3 separate regions of the Homo sapiens genome follow, and all the other regions are linked to region 3. Evidence: promoter capture Hi-C in 16 types of primary human blood cells and fetal thymus (Javierre and others, 2016). All regions are on one chromosome and are shown on one strand. The core of a region is centred on a gene start or on the middle of the fragment in contact, and the rest is flanking DNA. Distances in the headings are between cores, read along the strand shown. Region 1 has its middle 55 kb from the start of TTC39B. Region 2 has its middle 25 kb from the start of TTC39B. Region 3 holds the start of CCDC171 (coiled-coil domain containing 171).

Region 1 (2,771 bases), core at 177-2,676, 190 kb after region 3:
TCAGGTGATCCACCCATCTCGGCCTCCCAAAGTGCTGGGATTACAGGCGTGAAACACTGTGCCCTGCCATGAGCATCCTTTTAATGAAAAAAAGTTATATATATATATATATATATATATATATATATATATATATATGGACTTTTTAATGTAAACATAGTGTCTCTAGTCCCAACTTCTCAGGAGGCTGAGGCGGGAGAATTGCTTTAATCTGGGAGGAGGAGGAGGTTGCAGTGAGCCGAGATGGTGCCACTGCACTCCAGCCTGGGCGACAAAGCAAGACTCTGTCTCAAAAAGAACAAAAATAGGAGATGGTGAGAAAAAGAAGATGGCCAGAAAGCATGAAGAAATGAAATGTGCCCTGAGGTTTAGTCTAGATATTTTGATATTGGAAATATATTAATATATCTGATCATATGGGTAGATCTGAAGAAAAACCATAAAATGGTCTCCATAGATGCTGAAAATACATTTGGCCAAATTTGACAACCATGCTTGATAAAAATATTGACTTAGGTAGATATAGATGGATATTTCCTTAACATGATAAGATAAATTGATCTCAGCTCAACATCGTGCTTAATGCCAGAATTTATAAACATTTCCAATAAAGTGAGGAATAAGATAAAAGATGTCCGTCGTCACTGCTATTATTTCACAAGGTGCTGAAGGTTTTAGCCAATGCAATTAGACAAGAGACAGAGACTAGGAGTATAAAAATTGTGAAAGGAGAAGGTAAAACTATCACTACTTGCATAAGTTATTATTGTAAACTTAAAAGTTCTTGAAAGAAGCAGAAGAAATACCTTTAAAATCTTGCAGTTAGGAAGACCTTTGCAACTATGCCTTAAAATCCTAAAGTCACAAAAGAAAAGCTTGATAAATTTGACTATATAAAACAGAAACTAGCACAAAAATAAAACGAAAAGGCGGGGAAAAGAAGTATATAAAATAAAAAGAACTGGGGAATCACATTTGCAACTCATATTCTGTCTCTGTAAGAACAACAGCTAAGTAATGAGTAAAGAATGTGTACACCTGGAAGGTTGGCAAAAATCCTAAGATTGGACAATTTAGGGGCCAAGAGCCCTCTGAAGTTTCGCTGAAAAATTAACTTGCAAAAGGCAGATTATTTGGATAAAAGGCGTGCAAATGTATTTAACATGTTTATATGGGAGCTTGAACCCGGGAGGTGGAGCTTGCAGTGAGCAGAGATGGCGCCACTGCACTCTAGCCTGGGCAGCAGAGTGAGACTTCGTCTCAAAAAAAAAAAAAAATACAGGGGAAATTGTTCATTTTTTTTCTTCAGTTTGAGAGCAAGTACTGTTTATTAACTGACCTGATTAGAAAAATAATCATGGTAGACACCTTAGTTCATTCTTCTAAGAAGCCTGTTAATCTGGTCCTCCCTGTTGCCAGCATCTCCACCTTCTACAAAATAGATGGTCAGTTTCTTCATTCCACTTCTTGGAGAAGATAATTTGAAGGGCCACAGGAAGCTATTTGCTTCTTTGAAGCATTTTCCAACAGTATAGGTCTCATGAATCAGATCCTCCAGGCAGATGGTGCCATATTTACCAAGAGATTGAGCAATCAAAGCGTTTTCTATCAAAGCAATTTGCTTCTTACTGATTTTGCCATAACCACGCTGGTAGATTAGTTCATTTACTGACTTCAGATTTGGGTACCTCCATGCAATGTATGGCTCTACAATCCACAGCATGTTAGTTGAAGCCTTGTTGAGCTTCACAAAGGTTCCATTGAAGATTTGATGAAGGCAAAGAAGCTGCAACACCTTTCGGACCTTTGTGCTCACACCATTGATACCTCTGAATCTGATGACAAACACCAATTTGGGTTCTGCAGGCACATAGACGTTGCCAGCTTTTCTTGCCATCCTCACCATTCGAATTTCAGTTCTGTACATCTGCCTATATTCCTTGTGATAGTGCTTCACTTTTTCATAGATAAGCTTCCTTTTTGCCTTTCAAAATATCTTTTGGGCAAACTTCTTTCTCAGGCGCTTGATCTTCAGTTCTGCGAAATTCCTTTGTTTTTTCTTAAGTTTCTGACACAGCGGGAAGCTGCTGCTGCTTCTCTTCGACACCCTCTATGGTTCTAGCTAGAAAAGAGGAGAAACTGCCCATTTTTATGCTTAGGTTCAACAATGTATGATCGGCCATGTAGAAAAATGATTGGACAAAAAGGGTCTAATCTAATGCTAATAGAATGAGTGGGGAAACCCAGCAAGGCCTCTCTGTCTAGATTCTTCTCGGCCTTCCTGAGCATGCATTCCTTCCTTCTGAGTATGGGGAAAGATCTCTCTGGATTGGGGGCCTTTGGGCCTACAGTCAAACAAGGTAGGTCAGATAATTTTTTTTATGGCCAGATTTTAGAAAGAAAGGCAGATGGAAACTTAGAGTAAGATTTTTAGGTTTTATGGCTGATTGGGGAAAAAGGGTTCTGGTTTCTATGGGGAAAAGGGGTACTGGTTTCTATGGCCCACCTTGGGGAAGAAGGATTCTAGTTTCTAGAATTCTAGTTTTCTAGAATTCTAGTCTTGAGGGAGAATGGGACTGAGAGATAGGAGGGTAGGAGAAGGTCAGAAAAGAACTTTTGCTTTTGAGGCCTTCATTTTGGTGTATTGTTTTCTGAGCACCAGCAATGACATTCTATGGATGCGTCTGTGTGGAACTGGACATTCTTGTATGTTGCTGGTGGGAGTCCAACTGGTAAAATGTCTATGGGTAGAATTTGGTAATAGCTATCAA
Region 2 (2,907 bases), core at 107-2,606, 220 kb after region 3:
GACCTAAGCGGAAGGGGAAGCCAGATTGTAAGCAGGATGCATCCATATAAAAGCATTTATGATAAATTGCCTAAAGAGATGTCACAAGTAAGGGACCTGAATCTCCTAGCCTCTGGTAGTTGGTAGTTTGTAGTGATTTATTTTCTCACTGCAAATGGTCATTTTAATAACTACTCTATTTCTGAAGCTTCTTGCTGGTACTGGTGCCTCTGCCTGTCCTGGCATCCAGGTCACATTTGTAGATTCTTTTTACCTGTCTCTAGATCCAGCGAGCAGTTGGCATCTGGTATCCAGGAGATGGCACAGTGTGGCAAAAAAAAGCTCTGTACACATTTATACAGCACTTATTGCAGCACAAATTGACACAATCTTTCTGCAGGCAATTTAGCCAGATATAAGTCTTGCAAAATTTATACTTGTGTAAGAGATAGGTCTGGGTTCAGCTTCAAATAACTGAAACCCCAAATAATAATGGTTTAAAAAAGATGGTTATATCACTGTCATGCGAAATTCCAAGAGTGGTCCAGAGTTGTGATGTGTGTGAGCTCCAAAAGGGACTTGGTTTTCTTCCAGTTCAATCATGAACCAAGATGAGAGAACTACTTTCCCGGGAGCAGGATGGAGTGTATCCAATGAAGAATGTGTCCAATGGAGAAACAAAGGCCACATAATACCTCTGTCTAAGGAAGGGACCTGGAAGCTGCCACATAATAGTTTTGCTCATATCTCACTGAGGAGACTTCAATCACATAGCCACTCTTAGCTGCAAGGGACACTGGAAAATGTAGTCTACTCCTGATGGTCATGTGTCTGGCTAAAACTTTTGGAAGAAGGGAGAAAGAATAATAGGGAACAATTAATACTGTTCTGTGCCTTGCCTATTTTACTTTATATATCTTGGCAATGATTCAATGTTAGTACTTAAGGAGAATCCTTATTTTTATTATTTTTTAATTTTAATTTTTTTTTTTTTTTGAGATGGAGTCTCGCTCTGTCCCCCAGGCTGGAGTGCAGTGGTGCCATCTTGGCTCTCTGCAATCTCCGCCTCCTGGGTTCAAGCGATTCTCATGCCTCAGCCTCCCGAGTAGCTGGGACTACAGGCATGCACCACCATGCCTGGCTAATTTTTTTTTGTATTTTTTGTAGAGACGGTGGTCTCACTATGTTGCTCAGGCTGGTCGCGAACTCCAGAGCTCAGGCGATTTGCCCACCTCAGCCTCCCAAAGTGTTGGGATTATGGGCGTGAGCCACTGCACCTGGCATTTTTATTTTTATTTTTTAAGGCTGAATAATAATACTCCATTGTTTTATAGTATCAACAATTCTTTTATTTTTTTTTGAGATGTGGTCTCATGCTGTCACCCAGGTTGGAGTGCAGTGGCTGATCTCGGCTCACCACAACCTCCACCTCCCAGGCTCAAGCGAGCCTCCCACCTCAGCCTCTCAAGTAGCTGGGATTACAGGCATGCACCACCATGCCCAGCTAATTTTTGTACTTTGTTTGTAGAGATGGGGTTTCACCATGTTGCCCAGGCTGGTCTTGAATTCCTGAACTCAAGCCATCCATCAGTCTTGGCTTCCCAAAGTGCTGGGATTACAGGCACAAACTACCACACCTGGCCACCAATCCCTCACTGATGGATGGTTTCAGTAGTTCCCAAATTTGCGTTGTTAAAAATATCACTGCAATGAGTAACCTTGCACATAGGTAGTTTCACATATATGTGAGTATATCTGTAGGATAAGTTCCCAGATGTGGAATTGCAGGAAATTTGTAATTCTGGTTGATTATTGCTAAATTGCCCTCATTAGAATTGTTGCAATGAAAAGCTCAGTATCGGTCGGGCAGAGTGGCTCACACCTGTAATCCCAGCACTTGGGGAGGCTGAGATGGGAGGATTGCTTGAGTCTAGGGGTTCAAGACTGGTGTGGGCAAGACCCCATCTCTAGAAAAAATTTAAAAACTTAGCCAGGTGTAATGGCGCATGTCTGTGGTCCCAGCTATATGGGAGGCTGAGGTGGGACGATCACTTTAGCCCAGGAGATTGAGGCTGCACTGAGCTGTGTTCATGCCACTGCACTCCAGTCTGGTTGACAGAGTGAGACCCTGTCTCAAAAACAACAACAACAACAACAACAACAACTCAATATCAACAATAAGCCTTTCCAACATAGCATTTTATGAAACTTTTAAATCTTTCCCTGTCTCGTAGGTAATATGCAATTTTACAAATGAAAAATAGTGCTATGATTAAAAACTTAAGAGTAGCAGAATATGCAAACCCAAAATATGCCACTTTGGCATGAAGATTATTTTGAGCTGAAGGCAACTGAGAGGAAGCAGATACAAGAAAAGTTCTCTGCCCTTCCTTTACTTACCTAAAAGCAAGAAGTGAATTTGTAAAGGTGTCCTCTTGTCCCAGGAAGGATAAAAGGTACAAACAATTTTAAACTCTTGTTACTTTTTGCTACAGTGTTTTCCAGAAAGATGTGCTAATTTTCTCATTCCCATCTAACAAAGCTTAAAAAGAGATTAAATAGATTGTAAAGAGGTAAGGTGCAGTAGGTAGGAAGATAGCTTTTAACACACCGGAGTTTGAGTTGGATTCTTTTAGAGCCTCTGAATAGTATTGTTTTTTATTTTTATTTTTTAAATAAATCAGTTGGTTGCCTTGGCTGAACACAACAGTTTCACTTTTTTCCTTGCAGTGAGTGGCAGAATTTTAGTTTGGTTATTTTAACCTTATCTGGGCAGCTTGGAGTTGGCATATGTGCCTGGTTCAGACGTCAGCCAGGTTCAGCGAAAGGGTAATACCCAGAGAAGTTGAAGCTTCTCCTCTCTACCTCTCCCTTTTCCTGGATTTCTCTTCTCAGTTTCCAGCTGCTATGGTTTCTCTGAACTCTGTC
Region 3 (2,888 bases), core at 171-2,670:
CTAAGACTATGCCCTTCATCTTTCCTCTTAGCAGGTTGCACTGCCTTTGTTTCCTCTGCATTTTATGAAAAACCATGTTCATCTTCTGCTCTACCACTGTTTTGTTGAGAGTAGGAACTAACAGTTAAATAAAATAAGTGACATGCCGGGCGCAGTGGCTCACGCCTGTAATCCCAGCACTTTGGGAGGCCGAGGCGGGCGGATCACGATGTCAGGAGATCGAGACCATCCTGGCTAACACAGTGAAACCCCGTCTCCACTAAAAATACAAAAAAATTAGCCGGGCGTGGCGGCGTGCGCCGGTTGTCCCGGCTGCTGGGGAGGCTGAGACAGGAGAATGGCGTGAACCCGGGAGGCGGAGCTTGCAGTGAGCCGAGATCGCGCCACTGCACTCCAGCCTGGGTGACAGAGCAAGACTCCATCTCAAAAAAAAAAAAAAGTGACAAAATCGTATGTTCTTTTCTCCAATATTATGAAAACCATAAAACATCGGTATGTCATGTATTCAAAAGAGCTGGACACCAACTCTAATAAACAAAATAAAGACGTATTTATCTCATTTACCTAAAATGTATACATGAAATATGTATTTTCTTAGGATCAATATCATAATGGAATAAAAAAATTCAAAAAGTCGGCTCCATTTCTGCAGAAAATTTACAGCTTCGGGAAAACGCACAGCTGACTCAGATTCTAAGTCTCTCAGAGTCCTGGAGGGTAGGTAGAAGCTGCAGGTGACAGTCTAGCACAACTCATTCCCGTTTATCAAACATCTGTAGAGTGTCTAGTGTGTGGCCGGCATTTAAAAAGGGGAGAGCGGGCTGAAAGACGTGGTCCCTATCCTCGAGGGGCTTACTGATTCTCGGGAACGAAAGCGCTCCGCAGCAGTAACCCTAAGAAGCTCCAAATCCCGGTCCTCTGCCTCCCCTCTGGTCCCCATCCGGCGCTCTGGTACAGCCTCAGCGATCTCTGGCTAGGATGCTCCACGGAGATCTTCCTCCAGGTGGGCGGGGAGACCCAGCCCAGGGAGCTGGAGGCGTGCCCCAAAGCCTACGCCAACAGCCCCAGGGCCGCCCCAAACTCACTCAGGGGCCCCTACAACCCTCTCAACACCTCCCTCCCAAGTCGTCCGCCTCGAAGCCCCCACACCGTGCGGTTACCTCAGGGGTCTCGCGTGATCCGTGCTGCACACCCAAGACCCCAGGGGCCGCTCCAAGTCTCACGGGTGAAAGGAGGCCCAGGCAGCCCACGGGAATAAGAGCAAAAACTGTTGGAACACGACGGACTCCAGGACCCGGGAGGAGGGGGACAAACAGCAAAGGGGTACAGAAGGGGAAGAGCCCCCGGGAGGTGAAGTTTACAACTGCCACTTCCGGAGCTGAAAACACTCCGCTTCTCTCGCAGACCTTCCCAGACTTTCACAGGTCAGCCCAACTCAGGCCCGGCCCCACTTTTTCCTCCCGCCTCCCGCAGCCCTCAGCTTGCAGCTCCTGGATACGTACTCCGAGAACGCTGGCTCGGATTGGAAGAGCCCGCCCGCCAAGCAGCGCGCCTTCGCTGAGGGACGAACGGGCGCATGCGCCGTTGCTGGGGAGCGGCGGGCTCGCGACCGCACGCGCTCTCGCTCCAGGAGCTCCGCGTCCCCGCGCGGGGGTGCGCCCTGCCCACGCGCTGCTGTGGCTTTTCAGCGTGAGGTGTCCGCGTTCCTGTCTCAGTCGCCAGAGCCGAGTGGAAATGCAGATTTCCAGCTTCTAACCCCTTTTCCCTGCCTGCTGAATAAAAACCTAAGAGGTCGGATCCCAGATCCTGCTTTTTGAAACTGGTTCTTCTGCCCATCTTTAGAGCCACAGCAACGGTGGGCTGGTCCCGGGGCCTGGGGAGAAATTCTCTGGGCTCGGGTTCTGCCCAACTGCCTGGTTTACCTCTGTCTGGACAGCTCTCTGCCTGCACAGGGCATCCTGTCCCCTCTTCCCGTCCCCATTGTATCCCAGCTGGGAGTGGTGAGCAGGGTCGGAAGAATGCATTGATGCTGCTTGCAGTGCGTTTCATTATCAACATTACGTAACCAGGCACATCGTGGAAAACGCCTCGGAGCCTTAGCATGTGTGTTCCCTATCTCTTTCCTCGCTTCTCTCACTTTTCTCTGACACACACACACACACACACACACACACACACACACACACACACACCGTCCTCTTATTGATAATTTATACTTTGGTTCCTCCCGGTGGCTGCTTCACAATCTGCTGCCGCCTAAGGGAGACTGGAAAACCAACTCCTCTTTTGTTCCTTAACTTTTGAAAGCCTATTCTTCCAGAGAACAATGCAAATTGACAGGATTTGGTCAAAGATTTTTATCTTCACCACCACCACCTCCTCTGCACAAAAAGGTGTTTAATGCAAAACGAGCCTTCTATACTAAACTGGGTCCTTGTTGATTGTAATCAACCTGAAACCAGGTGTAGGGGCCGTCTTTTCTCTCTCCCATGGGAGAGCCAACGGTCATAAATGCAAACACAAATTGAGATTAAAACCTCCTTGATTCTTGTAGCACTGAAACCTTAATTGGTTTGATTTTAGTCATTTACATCTAAAACGGAGGCCTGTCCCTGATTCTTTTTACTAGAGCCATAAAGAGGACAATTGCTCCAGAGGAAATAAAGGGAAAAAATAGCCCACTCTAAAGTTTAGAAATGAAATGGAAAATTACAACTGACTAATGAGATTAGAACTTTTATGTTACAAGCTTTAAAAAATATTTTTAAATTTTATTTTTTTCTTTTTCTTTTTTTTTTTTTTTTTTTTGAAACAGGGTTGTTCTCTGTTGCCCAGGCTAGAGTACAGCGGCACAATCACGCCTCGCTGCAGCCTAGACCTTCAGGACT

The links. Contacts are between HindIII fragments. The CHiCAGO score rates a contact against its expected background, and 5 or more counts as called.
Region 1: a contact is called between a fragment that was not itself captured here and the fragment with the promoter of CCDC171 in region 3, in 1 of 17 cell types (non-activated CD4 T cells). The highest score is 6.6, in non-activated CD4 T cells.
Region 2: a contact is called between a fragment that was not itself captured here and the fragment with the promoter of CCDC171 in region 3, in 6 of 17 cell types (non-activated CD4 T cells, naive CD4 T cells, activated CD4 T cells and 3 more). The highest score is 6.9, in non-activated CD4 T cells.

Annotation. Positions count from the first base shown.
Region 1 is chr9:15,360,738-15,363,508 of GRCh38, reverse strand. It overlaps the pseudogene RPL7P33. Among named protein-coding and RNA genes, the nearest start is that of TTC39B, 55 kb to the right of the region's middle. The HindIII fragment of the contact is 1,097 bases long and covers 878-1,974 here.
Region 2 is chr9:15,330,563-15,333,469 of GRCh38, reverse strand. No RefSeq gene overlaps it. Among named protein-coding and RNA genes, the nearest start is that of TTC39B, 25 kb to the right of the region's middle. The HindIII fragment of the contact is 2,334 bases long and covers 190-2,523 here.
Region 3 is chr9:15,551,575-15,554,462 of GRCh38, reverse strand. CCDC171 (coiled-coil domain containing 171) reads right to left here and starts at 1,420. Exons shown (of 26, transcript NM_173550.4): 1 at 1,161-1,420. RefSeq lists enhancers at 1,113-1,282, 1,178-1,823 and silencers at 1,563-1,652, 1,663-1,722. The HindIII fragment of the contact is 6,396 bases long and covers 1-2,751 here.